2 separate regions of the Homo sapiens genome follow, and region 1 is linked to region 2. The links are contacts of gene promoters, found by promoter capture Hi-C in blood cells and fetal thymus (Javierre and others, 2016). All regions are on one chromosome and are shown on one strand. Each heading gives the region's core, a stretch centred on a gene start or on the middle of the fragment in contact. The rest is flanking DNA. Distances are from core to core; before and after follow the strand shown. Region 1 overlaps OPN5 (opsin 5). Region 2 holds the start of GLYATL3 (glycine-N-acyltransferase like 3).

The links. The method cuts DNA at HindIII sites, captures the fragments that hold promoters and counts their contacts. A CHiCAGO score of 5 or more calls a contact.
Region 1: a contact is called between a fragment that was not itself captured here and the fragment with the promoter of GLYATL3 in region 2, in 1 of 17 cell types (M0 macrophages). The highest score is 5.7, in M0 macrophages.

What each region holds. Positions count from the first base shown.
Region 1 is chr6:47,791,458-47,795,421 of GRCh38, reverse strand. It overlaps OPN5 (opsin 5), which reads right to left. Exons shown (of 7, transcript NM_181744.4): 3 at 3,450-3,620; 4 at 1-193. Among named protein-coding and RNA genes, the nearest start is that of OPN5, 11 kb to the right of the region's middle. The HindIII fragment of the contact is 3,804 bases long and covers 1-3,180 here.
Region 2 is chr6:49,498,012-49,501,981 of GRCh38, reverse strand. It overlaps GLYATL3 (glycine-N-acyltransferase like 3), which reads right to left and starts at 2,059. Exons shown (of 6, transcript NM_001010904.2): 1 at 1,940-2,059. The HindIII fragment of the contact is 14,834 bases long and covers 1-2,974 here.

The sequences.
Region 1 (3,964 bases), core at 29-2,528, 1.7 Mb after region 2:
AAGAGGATGTTCAGGATGAAAACCTGGCCCCCTACCGAGGCCTGGGCCAGCCACCAGTCCAGGGTGCACGAGGTTCCGAAGGGCTCAGGTACGTAGTCCCCCAGACCTACCAAGGGCATGGTGGTCCAGAAGGAAGCATAGGCCCAGATGGCTGCCAGGCAGATGTAGGCGTGCTTTCTTTTCAGCCAAACCCCTGGAGGCGGAAGAAAAGCATTACCCGGATGTAATCTGCCCTACACCCAGATACCTCCCCTCGATATGTCAAATTCCACCTCCAAAGATTTATTCCATTGATTTCTGGGAGACCTGGGCAGATAACTGAAGCCTGAGGGAGAGTGGAGTAAACGGAAAAAAGTTCCAGAGCTTGGGCCTTTCTCCAGGAGAACACAATTGGAAGGTTTTCTCTAGGCATCTGGGAGCTTTGGGAGGGAGAAGTGACAACAGCTGGGAAAAGGGACAGGAAAGAGATGAGAGGATGCTGAAGACAATGGAGGCCCTTGAGAAAACATCTCGGAAAGGGTGTGTTAGTGGATCATCCAGGGAAAATCCTTCTGGGAGGTGAGGAAGCACAAAACATGGCTTGTGTCTTTAAAACGCCCTTCCTGCTAACAGCTTTTGTGTTGCTAGTCTTATCTGGCTTCCTAAGAACTTGTGGAAGGGGCTTGGTGGCTCGTGATCATGACACTATGGTTTGAGATTAAAGTCCTTGACTGTGTTTAGTAATTTGTGGAGCAGGTTTGGAATCTTCAAACGTCATTCACACAACAATCGCGCTCACACAGCCACAGCGGGAGAGGCAGAGAATCTAGGTAGGTTGCATCATGTTCTGCAAAGTAATTCTGTGAAGATATTTTCAGGAAGACAAAAAATGAGCTCCGTTTTTCAGCACTAGTTTCTGTTAACCAAAAGAGAATTCCAAGCGGAGGAAATAGTGCAGTCATCTAAGAAAAGCTGTAAAGCACTAGTGATCATTTTCAGAATTCAACACAACCACCAAAGACAGGTCGGCCTGATTTAGTGCAGCAGCCTCCACAGGAAATTACCTTCACACCTCACTCATCACCTCGAACGAAGAGGGCCAGGAAAGTGACTCTTTACTGCCTTGGTTTTGTGTTAGCAGAGAAGAAATATCAAAATATATTCAACAAAAGCTAAATGATTACTTCAATATAGACTCAGGGCCTGCCTCTGCTTAGTGCAATGTGAGGTTTGGAAAGTCGGTCAGGCCTAATTCTTCTATGTCTAGTCTTTGACTGACCTTGTGCATGCAAGACTATATTGCATATGGGTTAAATAAAATAATGTAAGGGGCCTGCTTTGCAAACTAGAAAGTGCTATATTAACATGAATTATTTTACTCCTGTGTAAGTGTATCTCATTTAGCGCTAATAAGAAATATAACAGATTGTTTCTATACTCTATTGTCTCCATTTTTTTCAAATACATGGCATTTTGTGTCATGAAATGCAAATTTCATGCCCAACCAGATAGGGGTGGCAATCATGTAGCCACAATATAAGTCAGCTCTTGTTTCTCCACTAAAACTGATAAAACATTGGCACAGGTAATCACATATATTCATGGGAATGTGCATAGGCATACGTATAAGCATTTATGGTTAGGGTTACTTGTGAGGTGTTTTATACTTACATTCCAGTATGGTGAAAGGCTGTCAAGTACAGGAGGGAGTAGATTAGTAGATTGGTTCTGTGTTGCTCCAGAAGTCAGAACTAGGACCAATGGGTGGAGGTTACTGGGAGGCAGTTTTGTCTTAATATAAGGAATAACATTGTAACAATGAGAGCAGACCAATCAGAGAATGGGCTGCCTTGTGCAGTAGTAAGCTCCCCGTCACTGGTCACTGGAATTATTCAAGAAGAGGCCAAGTGGTCATCTCTCAGGGATGCCTTAAAACAGTTTACCACGTTACATGGGAGAAAAGTCTACACATCCCCAAGCGACCTTCTAATTCCAACATTCTGGGACGCTGTGTGGAGGGTTTAATAGTGCATCAGATTAAATGATGAAACCACACTACTGAGGTTCAACCTTAGAAGAAGCTGGAAAATATACACAGTTCCCACATATGGAGTTATGACCTGCAATGATCCTGGCAGTGGGCGGCATCATCTCTTTAACTGACAAAGCCTAAACTCAAGAAAATATTTAAAAACAGAGGTATCAGGGTTTAGTATTCCTCAAACACTCTCAGGAAGTTTAACTTTTTTGCCTTCTTATCTATAAAATCTATAGTTAAATTTAAAATCTCTTTGGTATGAACAAAAATAAGTCTATAGAAAGAATTAGATGTTGACGTCACACAGAATATGTATAGTTGTATATTTTATATCTTACTGGAAATTTTGATTCAAGCTATTTCTATTGGAAGTTTTAAATGTTTAAAAAAGGAGATGTAAACTTTAAAAAAAAAAAAAAAAACGTAGTGCTGGATGATGAAGAGAATGGCTCACAAGCCCCCGCCTCCCACCCACCCAAGCATGGATTCTTTGGAGTTTGGGGATGTAAACTATAACAATACAAAGGGAAATTCTACCACATTGACAGTGTCAGGTCAACTTGATTTTTCCCACCTCAGTCTCCAGGCCCTGCTCTGACACCACAGTCTGTCGTCCATCACAACCACTCTAATTGACAGATTGACAATCAAAGCAACTTTATCCAGAGGAAGTCAGTACTGTTCCTTGGTTGTGCCTGGTTCTCAATATTAAACTTAAAGACCCAAATGCAATTCTTTCAGGTTTGATAAATTCCGAGAGCTCCAACAAACAAATGTAGTAGAAATTATTTTTAACCTGTAGAATGGTCTAATCATTAAAAAACATATATTTAGTCCCTGGAAACTTATTTTCTGCTGATTCACCAATTCTTGTAATCACTCATCTTTCTACCAACCAACACCACAAAAAAAAATATGTTGAGTGATATTTCTACATGTGTGTCCTTTCATGCAGAAACAGCTACATGACTCTAACTTGGAGGTGAACTTTTTGGAATTCCTTATCTCTGAAATCACAGGGAGCGTGAGTCCTAAGGGAGAATCTTAAACAGCTTTTCTTATAATTACACTTCCTAGGTGGGGAATGAGCTAAACATCTTGGACTTAACACCCTTTCGATGCACTTTATTTCTTTTGTTTGCGTGGGAAACATGATGGAAGCTTACACACTATACAAGAAAATGGTACTTTTTTAAAGCATTATAACCAAACACCAGACATTACTATAAAATATGTATTAAAAGAAATCTACTTTGACATAGGTTAAAATCCTTAAACATGTCAGAACAAGATGATAGGCTATAAATAGAAATATTCTTGATCTCTGAGGTTATTCATAATCTTTGTTTATTACCTGCATAAAATATGTACAGTTCTAACACTCAATCCACCTAGCTTTAACTGTCAGGGAATGAGAAACCTGCCAACTTACCATAAGATAAATAGCAGATTTTCAAATATCGATCCAGGCTGACAGCAGTCATGGTGATAAGGCTTCCACAGCCAAAGAAAAATCCAGCCCATCCATACCAGCGGCAGCCGATCCAGCCAAACACCCAGCGGTGACAAAAGCAAGAGATGATGGTGAACGGCTTGCCTACAACTAGAGCACCAAGTGACTTGTCAACAGACGTTCCTCTGGTTACTATTTCCCCACCTACCTCAACTCACCTGAACCTCCTCCCCTAAAGCACGGGGACACATGTGAACGCACACACACACCCTTGATTACACAGATTTCCTAGATTAATAAAAGCCCAGCAGTTATCTATGAATAAACTCAGTTTGAAGCTACCCAGAGAGGACTTTCAGTCATCCCAATAGCCAAAGACAGTGAAAGGATATAGAAGGAAAACTTTAAAGTAATTATTACTTTTGAAAAAACTGTCTCAAAGAGACCTGGCTTCAGGAATTACAGACATGATACTAGTAGCCAGTGACAACGAT
Region 2 (3,970 bases), core at 810-3,309:
CCCCCTGCAGACAGCCTATGAATGGATGTGCATTCAGGGAGGTTTCACATCACCAAGATTCCTATCCCAGAAAAGCAGATGTTCATAGCTCTGGGAATGGAATGCGACCCTTGTGGATAGCCTATAAATGGACGAATGAGGGGTGCCTGTCCATATGGATAAGATAGGGCTATAACACGCTCATCTTGCCACAGCTCTTCTAGGCCTCTTTAGGGTTAAGACATATTTCCTTCTGAGGATTTCTGGTCTAACTAGTTGTCTAGCTTCACATCCTGTTTCTATGGATTGTTTGTAACCAGCTTTTGCTGCAACTGTTACTGCTGATTAATATCCTGCTAATCATAGGTTATGGAAAGACTGTGTTTCTGTTTTAAGGCTCTGTTAGAAATTACTGATGCACACACTATATTGTAAATTCTTATCTCTGTATACTGTACTTCTGCATACAGATATTATGTTAAAGAATTACTTCATCCCCATGTGACCATCTCACCTCATAATCAAATGACCCTAAATCCCTCACTAACCTACCGCTGCCCTCACTAAACTTAATAATAAATGCTGGTATAGTCAGTGCATTGGCGGCACCGCGGGACCTGCTTTCACTATCTTGTGTGAGTCTCTTATTTCTCGACCTGCCAATCCACCTAGGAACAAAGAGAGAGCCCCGTTGCATTGCGGGCTGCTGGCCAGCTCCCGCGATACACACCACCAACGCCTGGCTAGTTTTTTTTATATTTTTAGTAGAGATGGGGGGTTTCACCATGTTGGCTAGGCTGATCTCAAACTCCTGACCTCATGTGATCCACCTGCCTTGGCCCCCCAAAGTGCTGGGATTACAGGTGTGAGCCACCCTGCCTGGCCTCCAGCTTCTTAATAGCAAAACCTCTACTTAATTGGCTTCAACTTACCCTTCTAGACTATACTCATGCAACTCACAAATTACTCAGGGTGACAAACTAAAATCAGAGACATTCCCCCATGGGTTCATGCAGAGAGGACACTACAATTAATCTACATTTGACAATACCCTTTCAGTAAACAGTGATTCATTTCATAAGGATCTTTCATTAAATAGAAATTTTTTTAATGCCACAAGGTAGAGCAGAAATTCTCATTGATGCAGAAAATATTTTCTACACATTTTTGTAACATGTTAGAGAGTCATAATGACGATTAACTCTGAAAGCTACAAGAGCAGAATGTCATATCCTTACCACTTGATTAGTACTGTCCATAATCAGTATGTTCTGGAATTGGAAGTTAAAGGTTGGTAACTCCTTTAACCAAATTATAACCAATAGACTCACTGTTTGAAAGTATTTGTCAAGAAAAAGAATTATGCTCATGTAAGTTTTAGAAACTGAAGTTTCTTTGGGGGCATTTGAGTGTTTATAAGCACAGAGCAAGCATCTAAAATATTTTATTCATTAATATTTATCATAACAATGAAAGCATGACACTCTCCTGGGAGACTTTTAAGTCTTATAAGCAATAAAACATAAGATCTCTGTTTTTGTAATGTAATACAATATTTACAATATAATGGTGGGCATTTGTTAATGAGGAAATACATTTTTTTAAGCACTTGGAATCCAATGCTAGTAATTATTTTTCATATGTTAGGATTTTTGTTCAGAGAGGTTGCTCTAGTTGTGCCCATATCACAATGCAAACAAATTTATACTTGGTAATACTTATTTTCCTCACATCAAAATTTAAGAGTAAAAATTTTCCTCATATCAAAATTTAGGAGTTAAAAAAACCCCAAACAAAAACACGCCAAGAAACAAAACAAAATATATCTTTCCTTGAAACCTAATTACAATGTATTCGTTCTGTATAAGGTTGGATTTCATCTCTTCTCTATTTTTCCCATCCCTTTCTGCAATTATAAACTATGACTTGAAATGTATTATATTAATGAATAAATGTTTACCTGCTGGGAGTTCAGTCCAGAACTGAGGGTTTTCAGCTGTGTATCAGTCCAGTAGCCCTTTTATATAAATGGTAAGTTTATTCTTCAAGGCTACCTCTCTAATTAGCCCTTAGTGGAAACAGGAGGGAGAGAAAAAAAAAAAAGTGCCCACACCTGTAGACGGGGAGGAGTTTATGATGGTGATCAGGTGAAAATCATCTCACATAGAGCACAGGCATTTCCACTCCATCTCTTCCTTTTTATCACATTTAGCCTTATGGTGTAAAAGCCAATGAATACTAATCTTGATTTAGAGATAGGTATTTTCTAGCCATAAAACCTGTCTATTAATCAGTATCTCATGAAGGAGAATAAAAAGAAGAGGAGCCCAGGCAAATGGTAGTACGATAAGAAAGTAATATAAAGGTATTGACCCTTTAGTTATTTTTTTATATATTCTGAAGAAAATGATTTTGCTGCCCTAAACTTCCAAGGCTGAAAGGGGGTAATCTCTACAGAGGATACATAAGTACATGAGAGTAATTTCAAGAATTTTAATTACTTCAGCCTATTCTTTTAAATGAAAAGTCATTCAGAGTTTACTCACTTCTTTCAAAAGACTGCAATTTTAACCACCATGTAAGTATTTACTTGGACATCTCAGCACTCAATATCTACATCTTGAAATAATATGCAACACAAATGTCTCAACGGCATATGCAGAGTGCTTCAGTTTGAATGTGGTTAGATGGGAGGATTCTGTTTACCACATTTAGGTCTCATAAAATGGTAAGGTAGGGCATTCTTCACTAGAGGACACTGAGCTTTGTAATACAATGGGCAGCTAGTAGTTGACAGCAAATGGAGAAATTGTATTAGATGTCAATTACTAGATGTCAAAATAAGAGTTTTTGATCTTGCTGTATACATTGATAACTTCTTTTTTAAAAGATGTTACTGAGAACAAAGTATACCTACTCTTGGACCTAAGGAGCCTATATAAATATAGTTTTCTAAATATTAACTGAGTAAAATATATTTTTTAAAAGTTAAGCTTTTTTTTTATTTGCAAAACAGGAACTCCTTTAGACAGTAAGTGCAATATCCTAGGGGAAACTTTAAAAAGTTTGGGGTCTGGTTATTTATAAACTCTGAGACATGTAAAAGTCTCCCCAAATTTAGATTACGTCTTGTTTCCAAGTGCATTTAAAACAGAAATTTGAGCTCTTTGTTCTTTATAAAACATCAGAACTAATTGGAACTAATTTTTGCCTGAAGAAAAAAATAATAAAAAGGCAAAACATTCCTTTTCCTGGAAAGTATGGTTGAAGGTAATTAAATTTGAGATATGTATATATATTAGGCTAAGGCAAACTTTTAACTCTGAGATTAACGGAAAAAGGAGGAAAAAAGGAGATTCCCAATGTAAGATTAATTTAAAGGAATTGTCTTCTGAAAACCCAGGTGAACAAATCCGCAATACATATTATCACTTTACTCAGAAAAATACATCAGATTGTACTTTGCTGTAATAGGGGTTACTCATTAGATTCACTAGCCCCTTCTACTTGTAGTTTATCAGAAAACTCCTAAGAAAAGGTTCAATTATTTTTTCACTTCCTTGTTCTATCATTTACTATCTGTGTGATCTCAAGTTATTTAGCCTCCCTGTGCCGCAGTTTCTTCACCTGCAGGATGGAGATAATAATGAATGTTATGAGGTTTAATTCCCATAGGGTTTCCATTAAGATTAAACATTGGCATAAATACATGTATATAGGTAATGGCATTGGACTAGTACCTGGCATGTAGCAAGCACTCAATAAATGTCAGCCATTTTTCTCATTGCTATGACTGTCTTATATCCCTGTTGTACTATTTGAAAACTTACAGTAATTTTAAGGACAACTCTAGGGGGTAGAAATGGGGCAAAATTGGCTAAGGCACATTTATTTCTATTAGTTTAAAAATGTATACATATGTAACAAACCTGCACGTTGTGCACATGTACCCTAGAACTTAAAGTATTAAAAAAAATGAACAACTTAATTT